Regions from separate parts of the Homo sapiens genome. Here all the other regions are linked to region 6. Evidence: promoter capture Hi-C in human tissues and cell types (Jung and others, 2019). All regions are on one chromosome and are shown on one strand. Each heading gives the region's core, a stretch centred on a gene start or on the middle of the fragment in contact. The rest is flanking DNA. Distances are from core to core; before and after follow the strand shown.

The links. The method cuts DNA at HindIII sites, captures the fragments that hold promoters and counts their contacts. A contact is called where the count stands out against the background at its distance.
Region 1: a fragment that was not itself captured here is called in contact with the fragment with the promoter of VLDLR in region 6 in 1 of the 25 tissues and cell types used here (dorsolateral prefrontal cortex).
Region 2: a fragment that was not itself captured here is called in contact with the fragment with the promoter of VLDLR in region 6 in 1 of the 25 tissues and cell types used here (heart left ventricle).
Region 3: a contact is called between a fragment that was not itself captured here and the fragment with the promoter of VLDLR in region 6, in 2 of the 25 tissues and cell types used here (heart left ventricle and hippocampus).
Region 4: a contact is called between a fragment that was not itself captured here and the fragment with the promoter of VLDLR in region 6, in 1 of the 25 tissues and cell types used here (lymphoblastoid cells).
Region 5: a fragment that was not itself captured here is called in contact with the fragment with the promoter of VLDLR in region 6 in 3 of the 25 tissues and cell types used here (dorsolateral prefrontal cortex, heart right ventricle and hippocampus).

Annotation. Positions count from the first base shown.
Region 1 is chr9:2,239,560-2,242,259 of GRCh38, forward strand. The region is part of intron 1 of LOC107987043 (a long non-coding RNA gene); the gene reads right to left. Among named protein-coding and RNA genes, the nearest start is that of SMARCA2, 230 kb to the left of the region's middle. RefSeq lists enhancers at 1,377-2,700, 1,568-2,442. The HindIII fragment of the contact is 3,743 bases long and covers 1-2,700 here.
Region 2 is chr9:2,255,794-2,258,493 of GRCh38, forward strand. No RefSeq gene overlaps it. Among named protein-coding and RNA genes, the nearest start is that of SMARCA2, 240 kb to the left of the region's middle. The HindIII fragment of the contact is 4,855 bases long and covers 1-2,700 here.
Region 3 is chr9:2,179,799-2,182,498 of GRCh38, forward strand. It overlaps SMARCA2 (SWI/SNF related BAF chromatin remodeling complex subunit ATPase 2), which reads left to right. Exons shown (of 34, transcript NM_003070.5): 30 at 1,773-1,878; 31 at 2,343-2,444. It overlaps LOC107987043 (a long non-coding RNA gene), which reads right to left. Exons shown (of 5, transcript XR_007061395.1): 3 at 1,039-1,224. Among named protein-coding and RNA genes, the nearest start is that of SMARCA2, 170 kb to the left of the region's middle. The HindIII fragment of the contact is 3,385 bases long and covers 1-2,700 here.
Region 4 is chr9:2,353,649-2,356,348 of GRCh38, forward strand. No RefSeq gene overlaps it. Among named protein-coding and RNA genes, the nearest start is that of VLDLR, 270 kb to the right of the region's middle. The HindIII fragment of the contact is 5,263 bases long and covers 1-2,700 here.
Region 5 is chr9:2,160,274-2,162,973 of GRCh38, forward strand. SMARCA2 (SWI/SNF related BAF chromatin remodeling complex subunit ATPase 2) reads left to right here. Exons shown (of 34, transcript NM_003070.5): 28 at 1,413-1,630. It also overlaps the pseudogene RNU2-25P. Among named protein-coding and RNA genes, the nearest start is that of SMARCA2, 150 kb to the left of the region's middle. The HindIII fragment of the contact is 3,757 bases long and covers 1-2,700 here.
Region 6 is chr9:2,620,341-2,623,040 of GRCh38, forward strand. It overlaps VLDLR (very low density lipoprotein receptor), which reads left to right and starts at 1,447. Exons shown (of 19, transcript NM_003383.5): 1 at 1,447-1,931. The coding sequence starts at 1,850. VLDLR-AS1 (VLDLR antisense RNA 1) reads right to left here and starts at 2,033. Exons shown (of 4, transcript NR_015375.2): 1 at 1,760-2,033. RefSeq lists an enhancer at 989-1,283 and silencers at 1,162-1,241, 1,852-2,121, 2,392-2,481, 2,492-2,581. The HindIII fragment of the contact is 11,914 bases long and covers 1-2,700 here.

The DNA of each region.
Region 1 (2,700 bases), core at 116-2,615, 380 kb before region 6:
TGAAGCCTGTAAAATGGAGAGAAATGCTCAAGAATATGTTTTGGAAGGTACCAGCAACAGGGCAGCTCCAGGGTTCACAACCCTTGGAACCCTGTCCTTAGGGTGTAGTTACGGGATAATTTGTTCAACCTCTTATATCCTGGGTCTCTCTATTGAAAATCCCAGTTCCTGGAAGAGAGAATAGGATTGGCCTGGTCATATTCCCTATTGGTCACATGTCCTGATTTACCAGAGCCATGTGGAGTCAGAGAGGGGTCATTCTTCAAAGGCCAGGGAATGAGAGGGAAGGAAGACTGCATGGATGAAAATAACCTCCAATCTGGACACTGTCAAAGCCAACAGACAGAAAACACCAAGATCCAAGAAGGCATGCAGGTAAGAAACACTGACAAAGCCAAGATTGTTCTTGAAGAATTCATCCCACAGAAGGGCAGCAGTTCACTTGCTGCATTCTGTTGACCTTTGGATTCCAGGACTGGAGTACATAACTAATGTAAAAGAGTGAACAATGACATATGGATGACACTCTTCCCACGGTGCCTTAACTCGCCATATTCCCTCTGTCTGGGAAATGTGTGCCAACCCCAAATGTCACTCTGATCATCTCTCCTGTTCAGAAAACTAGACTTTGATCATCCTTTATGATCTCTTCTCTTGTGAACTTTATGGTGGTCAAAGTCACAGCAAGGTCGATTAAGAAAGGCCAAGAATCAGTGCTCCTGTTTGCTGGGACCAGGAGGCAGAGGACTAGCCTGTCATTCACAGGTCTTCTTTAGGGGAGGGGGCAGGGCTTGTAAATTGGGGAAGTGGGTGGGGTGGTGGGAAGCAGGAAATATTGCCAGGCCGGCAGGAATCCTGACCCTCTTGGTAACTCATCCTGTACCAAGCAACCAAGATAATTTTTTAAAGTACAGACTTGTGTGTGGAAATATATCCTTCCCACAGCTCAACCTCAGCTTTGAAATGATTCTCAACAGAAACACACACAGGTAAACAGTAACTTTCTGAAGCACAATGAGTGGCCTCTGCTACAGAGACCAGTTTGGAGACTGCCACATAATACAATTTAAATTAAGCATGAGTATCTTTTTTTTTTTTTTTTTGAGACAGAGTCTTGCTCTGTCACCCAGACTGGAGTGCAGTGGCGCGATCTCGGCTCACTGCAACCTCCACCTCGCGGGTTCACACCATTCTCCTGCCTCAGCCTCCCAGGTAGCTGGGACTACAGGTGCATGCCACCACGCCCCGCTAATTTTTGTATTTTTAGTAGAGATGGGGTTTCGCCATGTTGGCCAGGCTGGTCTCGAACTGCTGACCTCAGGTGATCCACCCGCCTCTGCCTTCCAAAGTGCTGGGATTACAGGTGTGAGCCACCGCACCAGGCCGCATGAATATCTTTATTCATGAGCCTGGATCCCTAAGAATGAGGGTGCCTCTGACTATTCTTAATTCGTTCAGCAGTCACATTCATCGCACAACACCCAAAGACATATTTGGTCTGCAGTTCGCACCTATTCCTCTGGAGCTTTGAACAGTTAATAAACATTAGCTCGTTAGCATTAATTAAAAGGCATCTTATTACAGCAGGATCCAGAGTTACCACCTAGCCACTCTAAAAACCAGCGGTCGGCTTGACTTCCAGCAAAGCCTCTTTTATCGATGGCTTCTGTGGGTGTAGTTAACCTCCGCCGTCCCCCGTCTGATCTCATTATTTCAGATCCTCGCATCCTGGCTGGCTTTGCCTTCTCTCTCTCCTCGATCCTCCCTTTACATAAATGCGATTGTTTCGTTGCTTCCTTCCTCGGAGCCCGGGTTTTGTCCGGGCTTGGCTCGGTTTGCGCGTTTAAGAACGAGCGCCTAGGCCTCCGGGCAAGGGTCTAGAGCTCCCGCAGCCCTTCACTGGGTGACCTCCTCCTGTCGGGGCCATTTGTCTTCAGGGCCTCTCTTTGAGGCTCTGAACAGGACGCTCCAAGTGGGGCCCGAGCGCTTGGCAGACAAGCCCCTGGATTGTTGCTAGAGACCCTCAGGTCGCCTTGGGGCGGAGCGCGCCTTTCATGAATCCGGGAGCCTGGGATGCGCATGGCGAGGAGGGGGGAAACGTGCTGGGGAGAAGGCAGGCCTTGATGTACGCCCTGGTGGACAAAAGCTGCTAGTGTCAGCTTGATTTGCAAGATCAACATTCATGAGTTTCACCGCTTAGAAAGGGGCATTATCTGCAAACCGGAGACTGAATGGAAGCCATAAACAAGTGATTTCACACTACCAAGCAGGAAGAATATTCTACCTCCTCAATTATTCTGAACAGCATGTTTGGCCCCTTCCAGGTTCCCACCGCTAGCGAGCCCTCCACCCCTGGTGTGTGCAAACGGTGGACCTTTCGGCGCCTAAGAAACCGGGTGCTGAGCCCGGGAGCAGCGCCTGCTTTTCTTCCCAAGATCCACTCCGGGTTTTGCCTAGCGCTGCTCCGGGAACCCATTCCAGACGCAGGTAACGCCAGGCAACGTTTTCCTTCTCACCCGCCCAAGGCCAGCCCCGAGCCGCCGGGGTTCCAGGCCCAACACAGCACAGATGCACGTTTCAAAATGTGCTCGAATATGCAGCCTGCATCAAAGGCGTTGGGAGGCTCTTTCATCCTCTCAGCTGCCTAAGAAGGGACATGCTCCCAGCTACCCTCATTTGTGGCTGGGTTTACTCTGAAAT
Region 2 (2,700 bases), core at 169-2,668, 360 kb before region 6:
AACCAGAGGAATAAAATATCCTGACCTCACTCTCCTCTTCCACCAATTGCCTGTTTGGGCTACCCATTGACCACCATAACTTAAAGCCAAAGGGTTCAAGAACCTGTTGATATGATTCATCCAGGTCAGAAGTGTGGGATTTGGAGGGGCAAACAGGATGTCTAGCACACATGCCTTTTCCTGACATTTCCACTGCACATTTCTGCCATCCATTCTGGAAGACAAAGCCCACATGTTACCTCTTAGTGCTACCTCCAGGTCTCCCTAGCTAAGACAGTTACTCGTATCTCCCATAGTCTTTCTCACCCCTTGTGTCTGCATTATAGATGGTGTACACTCAGGGTATGTTCGTCTCCCTATTTATTAGACAATTAGTCCCTTGAGCACATACACCATCTCTATTCATATTCACAATATCTGCACCTAATGCTAGGGCATTTTTTGCACTGAAAAACATTGTGGTTGAAGAAATAAGTGAATGAATGAGCCATCTACAATAATTGGTTCCACATAGATGACACTTTCCATTAGCTCTGAGAACAGGGCATCTTCTTTCACACAGGGGTGTCACATCTTTATACAGTTTTTTATGCACTCAATTAAAAAAAATTTCAAGAACCAGACAACTAAATTTTTTTCTATGTAAACTCATCCAGACTTGATTAACCATGAACATCATCCACCTTAACTGGCCATTATATTTACAGAAGAAAGGCTCCAATAACAACTCCCATTCTTACTCCTCATCCTCCTAAGGAGATGTCAGTGTTTCAAGATGAGATTTCATGTCACTTCTCTTCTAGAAGCCTTAGATAACTGGGATATGTAGAGTTTAATATGATTCTCATGTGCAATTAATAATGTTTTTTCAGGCCGGGTATAGTGGCTCACATCTGTAATCGCAGCACTTTGGGAAGACGAGGCGGGTGGATCACCTAAGGATAGGAGTTCGAGACCAGCCTGGTCAACATGGCAAAACCCCAACTCTATTAAAAATACAAAAATTAGCTGGGTGTGGTGGCGGGAGCCTGTAATTCCAGCTAGTTGGGAGGGTGAGGCAGGAGAATCGCTTGAACCCAGGAGGCGGAGGTCAAGACTCTGTTTCAAAAAAAAAAAAAAAAAAAGAATTTTTTCAACAAAGCTGTGGATTCAGCTCTAGCATAGGTATCTGTTCAAAGCTACTTTTCGTTTGATTTAACATTACATATCAGTAAACCAGCAAGTTAGGAGCAAGATTTGTGGCCACATTACAAACAAAATCTTTCCGAGGAAGAGGATTCCAACTAAGAACCTGGGCGTTCCTAGTGTCCACCAGTCAAATAAAAACTGTATTCTCTCCTTTTTGCTGTGCTGATTAAGACAGACCACTAACGAAACAAAATTATGAGCTTAGTCCCAACGTGAGGCAGATGGTTTTGTGTTTATAGATTTGAAATGTCTGAGCTAGAAGGGGTCACAGAGGTCATCTAATTCAATTCCTTCATTTTATAAATTGGAAATAACAAAAAAAAAAACAAAATGAAAGTCAGAGGGGTTAAGTGACTAGCTCCTTGTCATAATTATGTCTGCAGACTGCTTTTAACCTTGGATCATCACACGCCCATCACTTTTGGAGAAAAAAAATGTCAAAGCACATCTCTATAATGGTGTGCATCCGATGTTTCATCATTAAGCGAGAAGGATAATGCATTGCTCTGGGGAAAGATTTTAAGGGCTTACATACAATGGAAAGAGGTACCGAAGCAACATCCTGACCATGTTAATTTCCTTTTGACTCCCTTACATCTTGTTTCTTCAGTATGTCTACTAATAAAGGGGCTCATAGCCCCCACACATTGTGTCGCTTTAATGCTTTGAGAGTTCAATAGTAAGCAATGACAAACATGTGATGCCCTGGCTCTTTCCTCTGAGAGTGCATTGGGCTGGAAAAAATGTTCAATCATCAGCAAGCTTCCTCTTTCCTGCACCTGCTGACAAACCCCAGGAGCACCTGTCTGCTGATGGACGCTAACATCCACAGATAATGCTTTAATCTTACTTTAGCTACAAGGAAGCATGGCTAGGTACTCTATATATCATTCATTTTATTCATACTCTTTGCTTAAGGTGATTTTAATGAGAGAGAAGAGAGGATAGGAAGAGAGGGAGAGGGATAGAGGATTTGTATAGAGGATCTGGAAAAGGAAACGGGGTTGTGAATTAAATATTTTATTGTCCTGGTCTGTCAGTTTTGTAATTTTGAGAATTTTTTTAAACCATTTGTGTCTCAGTTTCCCTATCTATAAAATGGGACAGATTGGACTAGGTGAATTTAGTTAAAACCCTTTTATAATTATAACACTCTGTATTTTTCCTTTAGAAAAGAGGATAGCAGCAATAAGTCAGATTCTTCCATAGGTTGCACTGATGACCTGGAGGAGCAAACACCTTGACTCTAGTTTCCATTTTAATAAAGGGAACTGTAGCTATTCTGCAGTCCTTCTCTACCTCTCTTAACCAAGCACTAGGTACATATGTTTAATGACTTTTGTTATTCTTTTAAGGCTATCTTCACACTAGAGTAATGACTTGGACAGCAACAGAAGCCTATCAGATGATAGAAGAAAACAAGGAGTGACCTGCAGAAAGACAATAAAACCTTGGCTCTATAGACTGCAGTGTCTACAACACACACTGAAAAAAGTAAATGTCAAGTGCCAT
Region 3 (2,700 bases), core at 42-2,541, 440 kb before region 6:
GAGAGTCAGGTGTTAAATCCGCGATTACAAAGAGGTCTGACTTTTGGGGTGCTGCTAGCTGATAAAGAATGCTCATTAAGCAAGTTGCTCTCTACAAATTACTCTCACTGCATTTCATAGGCACCTTTTCAAACAGATAAAATGTTTGGGTGTATAAATCTCAGAATGGTAGGAAAAGAACAGACCAGAAATTGTGGCCCTGTGTTGAAGGTGATGGTAAATAAAATAGTTCTTGTCATATACTATGTGGCATAAGTTAGGGAAGGACGAACGCATTTCTCGAAGAGATGTGAGGGGTAGGGGTGGTTGAGAGGGTGAGAGAACACCTTGGTTCTTGCTGCAGTGATCCAGAAATCCAATTCCTGAGTAAAATGCAGTCTTCTTAAACCTCTTGCGTTCACCCCTGATTTTCGTACTCATGAGGCCCATATGTGCATTAAAAAAATAAAACAAAAACGATGACCCAGTGTAGCAGAAAAACTAGCCCATCTCTTTGACAGAGGATTTTCGGTTAATTTATGCAGGCCTCTTTGCACTTCAGCATTTTTTCCACTGGTTGCTAAGCAACTGTTTGAGTTACTGCGCATGCCTTTTTTATGATAACTGTCATTATGATTACTTTTTAATTATACAACTGGGACTGTGGATTAAAACAGCATGTTGTCACTCATGCTTTGCCACTGCCTTCTAGTATTCTCACAAGCTCCTAGAATCACCTTCTGAAATTTTTATGGCAGTGATTTATGATTAATTTTTGATATTTCTGGCTTCACAAAGGAAGTAGAGATGGCATCCTAAGGGGAGTGAGACTTTTGTGAAAAATGACTGTATCACACACCACAAGCTGTTATTGATCTGAGTAGACCAAATCAGATATTAGGATCTTGAACCTAAATTGTGAATCTCTTTGTGCCTTTAACCACATCTGCTTCCAACAGTAAGTGATGTTAAAAGCTCATATGCTTTGTAGCCTGTGTTTGAAAATTACAAAAATGCTAAGCATTTGTTGCTATAGAACCTGCTTTCAAATAAACTTACCATGAATTTGGGGGAGGGTACAGCACTAATCCCAGAAATGTGAAGCATCCACACTTAAGCTTGTGAAACATGTTCTTCTTTCACCCAAATTGCTCTACACACACACAATGGCAGTTAGGCAAGATGAAGGGGTTCCTCTGGCAAGTAATAATAAAGGTATGTGTGGTTTACAGTATGTAAAATACCCTAAAGGAATAAGACCAAGAAAATAGTCAGCCAGTAGGTACGTACGAAGGCTTTTCACTTGAGTTTCCAGAGTATATTCTAACATATTATTTTGAGTTACTTTCTAAATACAATGTGAATTTGAAAACAAAGGAGTATGGAAATACAATGTTTAAATATGTATATTTTTATATATATGTACGTGTATATATATACATATATATTTACCAATTCATTTAAAAATGAAATTTTTAGCTAACAAGGATATTTTAAATATTTCTATCAAAATAAAGAGATATATTTGCTCTGAAAGGGAAATCCACAGTGTATTTCCCATATTGTATGTGTGACAGAAGTGGGGACCAAATTGTATTTTACTGTGATCTTAAAATTATCACAAGGGACATCAATCTCCAATAGAGTTGTGGGATTTTTCCTGACTTAAAAAGCTCCATATCTATATGCGTGGAATATAATTTACTTTGTTGACATGTTCTGAAATAAAAATAAAACCTTTCCTCAGTAATGTTTGATGTGGCTTGTTTTTGTTTGTTTCACCCATCCTACAGTTCAGGGCGACAGCTCAGTGAAGTCTTCATTCAGTTACCTTCAAGGAAAGAATTACCAGAATACTATGAATTAATTAGGAAGCCAGTGGATTTCAAAAAAATAAAGGTAGATATTTTGTTTACCAACTTTATTCTTCAAGTAAATAAAGGAGCAGTGTAAAGTCATTGAAATGGTTGTAGTTGGAGCTGACCGCCACTGATGGGTACCCAGGGCTCGCGACAGGAAAGGTTGGGATGTCCTTGTGCTTTTCCGTGAGTGTTACTTAATCATGTTGAGAGCTCACGTTATATTGCATTTTATTGAAGAGCTTTCAGGCTCCCTGCTCCCCCTGCCCACATTATTGCTCTTCTCATTTCCCATCATATGCTCCTCCTTGGCAAAAGGAATGACAGTGGGAGTGGGAGGGTGGACTTGGTGAATGGCGCCCCCTGGGGTTATGCAGTCCCAGATCCCTGGCAGGGCTTTATGCTGTGAAGACAAAGGGAAAATCAGGCTTTGTTAACTAAGTAATGATCGCTGAATTTTCCTCTCCCTCTTTTTTTCTCCATTTTCTCCAAAATTTCCATCAGGAAAGGATTCGTAATCATAAGTACCGGAGCCTAGGCGACCTGGAGAAGGATGTCATGCTTCTCTGTCACAACGCTCAGACGTTCAACCTGGAGGGATCCCAGGTCTGTCTTGTTAAGTTGTCTAAAAGTTCTTAACTGTAAATGTGCCCGTTGTTCTTTTTAAGTAGAATATTTCATTTTCTACCTCTTGAATCATTGCTACTGGCAGAAGAAAAATAACTAAAAGCCTATGTTCCTTGCTACCTGTGTAAGAAAATAGAGGCTTTGGCATCTGCAGATTACCTTTGTACCACAGCTGTGCTAGCGCCTACTCACACTTCTTTTCAAAGCTTATAGTCTTTTTTTTTTTTTTTTTTTT
Region 4 (2,700 bases), core at 73-2,572, 270 kb before region 6:
CCTGTTTTGTCTCACTCGATTCCCACCACCTTTCTCCTTGTGTGCTTGTTTCTTATCTCTATCGCGACGTGGCCTTTTCTCTGAGTGTGTATATCCCCGGTGTCTCTCTCTGTATGTCCTAATCTCTTCTTATAAGGACACCAGCCAGATTGGATCACAGCAAAAGGCCTCATCTTAACTTAATCACCCTCTTAAAGACCCTACCTCCAATATAGTCACATTCTAAGGTACTGGGAGTTAATGCTTCAACATATGAATTTTAGTGGACAGGCAGGTGTGCTGGTGGCGGGAGCACAAGTCAGCGCATAATAACCTTCATGGACCTTTTTCTTCCCCTGCTTAAAGTCAGGCCACACACAATGCATGCCAACCCTGGTGTCTTTAACCACCACCTGCCTCCATCTCTCCTGGTTGCCCGGTGGAACCATGGACAGCCCAGCTGAGGTCAGCTGCAAAACACAAGGACCTAGTAAAATCAGATTAGGTAAACCCAGAGGACTTATTCATCAGGCTAAGCCATTGTAGGTCTTGGAATAATACAATTTGGCATTTGTTAGTATAACATTTTGGTTTCTACAAAGATAAGTCCCACCTTCTTAAAGTAAGTATAAACACTTCAAAACACAAGTAACAGCCTAAGAGCTAAAGGATACATAATGGCAGAAGGTCCCATGATTTCACCCCCCAAAGGGCAGCTACATCAGGTGACAGTTCTGGAGAACTGGGACCCTGGCTTCCGGCCTCAGGCCTGCAGCCAACAATGTAGAAAGGGGAAGTCTCAGAACCTCTTTGCAGTTCAGGGTGTCCACCAGTAGAAGAGGAGTAACCACATTTTGCAGATAATATAAAGTAAAAGCTTGGGAAGTTCTTGGGATCTGAAGTAAATGTGTAACCATAAGATTTTGTTTAAAAGCACGCTATTGTTGCCCAGATTTTATCCTGTGTTAGTCGTGTCTCAGTCTACGCAGTGCCAAGTGCCTTGCTATTGTAACAGAGAAAGCCTGGAAGGCAATCATTCTTGTTAGCCCCTAATGCTAGAAGTGGCCACATACAAGTCCTGGGTCATTTTTATTTTCAACTCCTTACAACAGAAACATTAACGAGGCCAGAAAAAGGGAGAGAAAAATAAAACAAAGCTTTTGAAATCATAAAAGAAAAGGAACTTGGGTTTTGATTGTGTTTCTAGAAAAATAAAAACAAGGCATAGATTCATCGATTCTCCCTCAAGTATTTCCTGTAGTGCAATAAAGCAACCCCAAGTGTGACCCCCAGAAGCAGGTACGGTGAGCTGAGAAGCTCAGGGGCAAGGTAGGGAGGGCATCTGTCCCCATAACAATCTGCAGACTTTAAACACACAGGGAGAGCCTTGCAGTTACCCTGAGGCGGTGGGTTGGGTGGGGAGGGTAGAGTCAGTGCCCATGCCCTGTCCTTCACCTGAGGGAACGTGGCTTCTCTGCGGCTCTCCGTGTTTTGGAACTCGTTTGAGTTGTTGAAATCAGCTGGGTGCAAGTGAGTTTTGTTTTTGTTTTTCTGGGGAGAGGAAAGATTAGAGTGGGAAAAGGGAGAACAGGAGTGTCAGAGAAAGATTTTTCATGGCCCAGCCCTCGGCACATGTTGAAAACATCTTATAGGCTGATTTTAATTAGAACTCTCTATCTGGAGGGAGAAACTGAATACAGGTTCCAAAAACCATAACCTTTTTTAAATGGCATTCTTTTCATGGGCCTTTTCCAAAAAAGTTTCTATGCATTTACTATCAGTCTAAAGACATTTCCTGTTTCCCCTCTTCTCAGTTTACATTTTGGCATTTTCACAGTTTCTTCATTCCTGTTTCCCATGGCCCTTTACTATGCAAAAAGGGTGTGTACCTGTGCAAATGTGCAAGAAATGAAGGAAAATTAATAAACTAGCAAGAGAATTGGAGGGCAAGTTATGAAAAAAGAGTGAAGAGCTAAATTTATATAACCTAGAAAAAGAGAAGGCTCTGGAGGAACATGATAAAGTTACACTTCACAGAAGCAATGTAAATGAAGGGAGGGAATTATTCACAGTCTCAGAAGATGGCAGGACAGAAGGGCTGGCCCCAAGCCAAGGCGGGAAAACAGAATAATGAAGGATGATAAAGGCGAAGACCAGAGGGAGCGCCTGCTGTGGGGCCAGTGACCCCACCCTTCCAGTTCATTTCCGACAGACACGAGGGATCCAGCAGCATCGAGGTCAGCTGAGCAGTTCCACGTGGAGCTTTCCCACCCACAGCTCCTTCCTGGTCTGGTAGAATCTCCTGCACTGCTGTGGACAGTGGGGTGAAGGAAAAAGGATATGTTTTTCCCCAACATGGACAAACTTCCTCTCAAAGTAACTTTAAAGAACCAAACTTCCCTCCCTAAACACAGAAATAATTTCAAGCATAACACTCCAGTGACTTGTGTTCATTTTTTAATTCTATCTTGCTCTGTTTAATTTTTGATCAATTGGAGCTATTTTAATGCTTGTGAAGTCTTTCGTCTGGACTAAAAATGAGGACGATCCTTTTACTCTGGGCATAATAGCACAGACATTTAGTGATGGATTAACAGGGCTCCATGCCATCAATATCTACAGTGCATTGAGTGATGAATAGAAGGCCGGAGGTTGAGGTTTTACTGCTTACTTTGCCATTGTATTTGTTTAGAAGGCTATTAATATACAACAAATTTCCAC
Region 5 (2,700 bases), core at 35-2,534, 460 kb before region 6:
TGGTTATCTGAACACTGTAGGATCGTGATGGAAATTGTCTTTTGATTATTAAGGCCTAGGCTCAGACTGTCCCTTAGGAATCTGTCTGTGTGCATGTTGCTTCTATGGATTTGCACATTGGAGGATGCGTAGAAAACATATTTTTTTAAAAATCCCACTGGCATTTTTAACATGCCAGGTTGTTTTGTGTTCTGCACCAGGTTTTCTTCACAAAACCTTTCTTTTTCAGGAAGCGTTGTACATAAGTGAAAGAAATTATGTCTGAGCTGTAATCACTCTTTATATTGATTGTTATACTCACATGATCATAAATATTAGCCATGTTTGGTGCTGTGGAGAAATGAAGGTAATTGCCTTATGATTAGAGCTCTTTCAGCTACGAGAAAGGATTGATTATCATTTGCATACTGGAGGCAATATTGAGAGGCAGGAGGAACAAATAACAACATTAGTTATTTTGTGTGAGAGAGCAATCTCAAAACGTAATTTAAAGATCTTTTTTTTAGAAAATTTCTTTTCTATGTTCAAATTTTATGTTCTTTTTTTTTTTCTTCCTTGGCAGTATTTTTCCCCTTTATTTTTCTTCTTTTGAGTTTTGAGATTTACCAGGAAAAAAAAAAAAAGTTTAAACTTCTGGGTCTGTCACATGGATCTTTTAGCCCTTTATGAACAGGTTTCTTTTATACCTGGTTGTTTTTATAGCTATTTTATTATCTCTCTGCATTAGTGCTGCTGGCTCTGGTTTAAAGCAAGCGTTTGCAGGTAATTGGAAAAAAGTGTTTATTGTTTGTGAGTGTGTGTGTTCTTTATCGAATGATTTAAGTGCGTTTACCAAGGAATGTGGCTTTGTACTTTCCCGTTTCCTTGTTTACTAATTGCCACGTTAGAACAAAAATCTAGATGGAATTTTGATTTATATTGTTAATCATGAATAAATTGATGCAAAACCTGAAGAAAAGGTCAAAGCTTATATGATCGTGTGGATGTATTCTTAGGGATTGTTTTTTCATAACCCACCCCTCGTTTTGTTTACCTTTTCCTTCCCTTACAGTAATGAGAACATTAGGGTCTTGTTCTTAAACTGAGCTAAAATTTCATCTGGATTCAGTTATCATCAAACACTTGAATTTATAGATCTTTTAATATTTGTCATATTCTCCTTTACTGTGAGTGTTTTGGGCCTTCAGTGTGTTTTGCTCATGAAACAGACTTGAGTTAAAGATGCATTTATCCAATATGGTAGCATTCCTTTTTTCTTCTTCCTCCACTGATTACTGTTAACTTTTACTTTTTTTTGGTTAATTTCTTTCATTTTATTCTAATTGTTGGAGCTATATATAAATATACACATACTTTTTTTGTCTTGGTTATTCTCTTGTCTTGAATTTGTCTCCTTTGTTTCCAACGAACAGGCCATCGAAGACGGCAATTTGGAGGAAATGGAAGAGGAAGTACGGCTTAAGAAGCGAAAAAGACGAAGAAATGTGGATAAAGATCCTGCAAAAGAAGATGTGGAAAAAGCTAAGAAGAGAAGAGGCCGCCCTCCCGCTGAGAAACTGTCACCAAATCCCCCCAAACTGACAAAGCAGATGAACGCTATCATCGATACTGTGATAAACTACAAAGATAGGTGAGTGTTTGGTTCCTTCACCTTGATCATCTCTCACCAAGACGCCGAGTGGCGCTCCCTGAGGAGCAGGAGTTGTTAAGTTGTGCACTTAGGTTTTATTAAGGTTCTTTCTAGTTTGTGTTTTATGGCTTTCTCTCTTTGTACCTGTTTAAAATGGCCACTGTTGCTATTTTGTATGATGTTTCATCAGGTATTATTTAAGATAGTTGAAAATTTAGTTTAGATTACAAAATGTTTAAAATATCTAAATTAGAAAAGGATTCTTAAGGACCTCTGAAATACCATCTGAAAATGAAGATATTTCAGATGAAAGGGATTGGAATGATGGAGTAATATTATTTTTTTTAATTGAATTGTTAGAGAAAGAAGAATCCTAATATATTTAAGGTAAATATTTCATGTTAAGACTGTTTAAAGCAAAATAGATGCTTCATAGTAAATACAGTTTCTCCTTTCCTTCCAACACTTGAATTTCTGAGCACTTGAATTATCTCTTTCTTCCTAATACCACATAGCATGGTCTTTCAGCAAATTTACCTTTTTTATGGGATTTTTGGATACAGACTTTGAGAAAGCTGTGTGGGACACTCCTCCCAGGCCATTTTAAACAGTGAATAATTATTTGAAAACCAAAGACACTGTAGGGTGTCAGTCAGATCCATACAGTAGATGAACTAGTTAGGCTACGTTTTGGTTAGTTGACTTGGTTTCCACTTTATTATCACGTGGTAATGTTTTTATTTGAAGATGGCTTCTCGTTTCAGTTGAAAAATTGACAGGAAACAGACATTTTCACTCTCTCAGTTGCATAGTGGTATTAATCAGTTTTAAATTACCAATTGAAAAAAATTTTTTCTTAAGGGGGTGCATCATTCCTGGAGGTACTGCAGTACCAGGTCGATGTGTGGAGTGGATGAAGCAAGCTCCTCTTCTAGCTCCCTGCTTCCAAAATCCACTTAACATATTGTCCTCGGATAGAGGAGGAATCAGATATTAAGCATGTAACAACAGATACTACACTTGGTCTTAGCCAAAAGGCTGAGAAGCAGTTAGTTACCAGAAATGTTTGA
Region 6 (2,700 bases), core at 197-2,696:
AGAAACCTATCCTGACTGGAATTTTCCTCTCCTGTGTGTCTCCTGGATATAGTAAGTTCCTAATAAACATCTCCTCTGATTGCTAGCCTTGACAAATTTCCAGGAGAACCAGGGCAAGGAGAAGACAGTGAGGCAGTGCCCGCTGCTCTTCAGATCACCAACAGAATAGAGTCAGAATATGATATTATTGAAACCTTCCAAGTTTGAATTAAGATAAAAACAACTTTTTCAAAATACCAAAAACCTTTTATTTAAGAAAGTGAAATCGCTCGATGTGCCCTCCCACTCTGGTTAGATGCTCAACAGACCACAGCAGACAATGCACCTCAACCAGGGCTAAGTGTGCAAGAAAACTGAAGTACACAAAAAGCAAATTATAGACTCAGGTACTGTCAGGCACAAAAGAAGAACCAACCCTTTCTAGGAGTCTTGTCTTTGCTTCCTTTATTCTTTCCTCGATTCTTGTAATTGAATGTTACAAAGTATATCAAGAGGAATAAACGTATGGGGCCCCTCTCTTCCAAACAAGAAAAGGTTAAGCTTTTAATTACAGGCCCTCAAACTATCATTTTGTGCAATTAGCAATTAACTATAATCGTTGATGAGCAAATGCAAAGCTGCGCTAGCAATTTCCCTTCTCCTCATCCCAGGCTGGGTTATTTCAGTCTTGTTCTATTACAGAGGACCAGCCACAACCGCGCGCACTCTCTTTCAAACATACACACTCTCTCACTTAAAGACACATTTAGTTTTCGGCAAAACGGCATCTCAGCGTGCGATTGAGACCGGCATCCCAAACCCCACTTTTGAGCAGCCCAAACGTTTGGAGCCCCTCCGCTTCATCACTTTCTGAGTGGATAGAGGAGGCCCGAAGAAGATGCTACCTACCAGCCTCTCTCAGGGGCGCAGGAGAGGGTGGTAGAGAGATGCTTGTTGCCCCTGGAAACTGCAAGTACCCCCCAGGTGCACGCCCCGTCAGTGGGGAGGCGGTGGCAACAGCAACGATAGTTGCATCAGCGCTAACTGCTGCTGCTGCTGCGTGTTCTGCCGGAGGCTGCCGGGAGGGTACAGTAATGACTGTAGGGAGCGCACAGCCGCTGCGGCGGCAGGTTCCCTGGATCAGGAAATTAGGACAGGCACCCGGGATTGGAGGCGAGGGCGGCGCGCGAGCCAACCAGCGGTCGCCCCGGGCCCCCGTGAGCCCCAGGCGAACGCGCGGAGCAGCCGGGCCCCTAGAGCGGTCCGGGTGGCGGCGGCGGCAGCCACGACCACGACCGCGGTCACTCACGCACGCTCACACTCGCACGCTCCCCGCGCGGGCACCCGGCTGCCCGGCGCGTGCAAGAGGAGCGCGTCGAGGGAAAGGAGGGCCGAAGCCGCCGCGCTCCCGCCCGCCCGCCGCGCCTCCCGTTGACCACGCCCCCTCCGGCCCCCTCCCCGCTGCTCACCCCGCTCTCCGGCCGCCGCCGGTGCGGGTGCTCCGCTACCGGCTCCTCTCCGTTCTGTGCTCTCTTCTGCTCTCGGCTCCCCACCCCCTCTCCCTTCCCTCCTCTCCCCTTGCCTCCCCTCCTCTGCAGCGCCTGCATTATTTTCTGCCCGCAGGCTCGGCTTGCACTGCTGCTGCAGCCCGGGGAGGTGGCTGGGTGGGTGGGGAGGAGACTGTGCAAGTTGTAGGGGAGGGGGTGCCCTCTTCTTCCCCGCTCCCTTCCCCCGCCAACTCCTTCCCCTCCTTCTCCCCCTTTCCCCTCCCCGCCCCCACCTTCTTCCTCCTTTCGGAAGGACTGGTAACTTGTCGTGCGGAGCGAACGGCGGCGGCGGCGGCGGCGGCGGCACCATCCAGGCGGGCACCATGGGCACGTCCGCGCTCTGGGCGCTCTGGCTGCTGCTCGCGCTGTGCTGGGCGCCCCGGGAGAGCGGCGCCACCGGAACCGGTGAGTGAGGACGCGCCCCTCCGCCGGCGGGCGGGACCCAGCCGGGGCACCGGGAGACCCCGAGGCGTAGGTCTCCGTTTGCCCACCCGCCTCCTAGGAGGCGCCTCTCGGTTCTCCTCGCCTTCCCTCCCTCCCCTCCGTGGTGGCGCCTCTGAGCTGTCAGCGCCGAGGCTAAAGGGAGCCGGGCTTGGGGAACAGCGGGGTTCGGGGTGCCCCGACGCCTCGCCTGAACTAGTCTTCTGCCCCTCACTCCGCCTCCCCCAGAGCCGCTGCTTCGCCTCGTTTCTCGCCCTCTTGACGGGCGCCGAGGTGCGTGGGCTTCTGAGCATTGAACAATGGTTCTGCCTCCTCTGCCAGGCGCAGTGTTGGGAAGGAGGCAGAGGGCCAAGACGTGTGCGGCAGCCTCGGGCGCACCCTCGAACCCCGGGGAGTGCGGGAGCGGACGGGGGGAGAAGGTGAGCGCCTCCGGGGACGCGGAGCGCCAGGGGCCGGCCGGGCTTCAGAGTCTTCCGGCGGCCGCGAGCTGGCGCACGTTCGGTGGGCGGCGGCCGGGAGGCTCCGCGGAGCCGAGGGCACCCGGACTGCGACTCCCCCGGCGCGGGGCCGCCTCTCCGGCGTGCGGGGTAGGGGAGCGGCGGGGCTTTACGCAGGACTCTGCTCTGGGCGCTTCTCCTCTCCCTTTTCCCCGCCTCGGGCGGCGTTTGGAAACCGCTCGGGTCTCCCGTGTAGCTGAACGCGGAGGGGGAGTGGAGGGGAGACTTAATCAGGT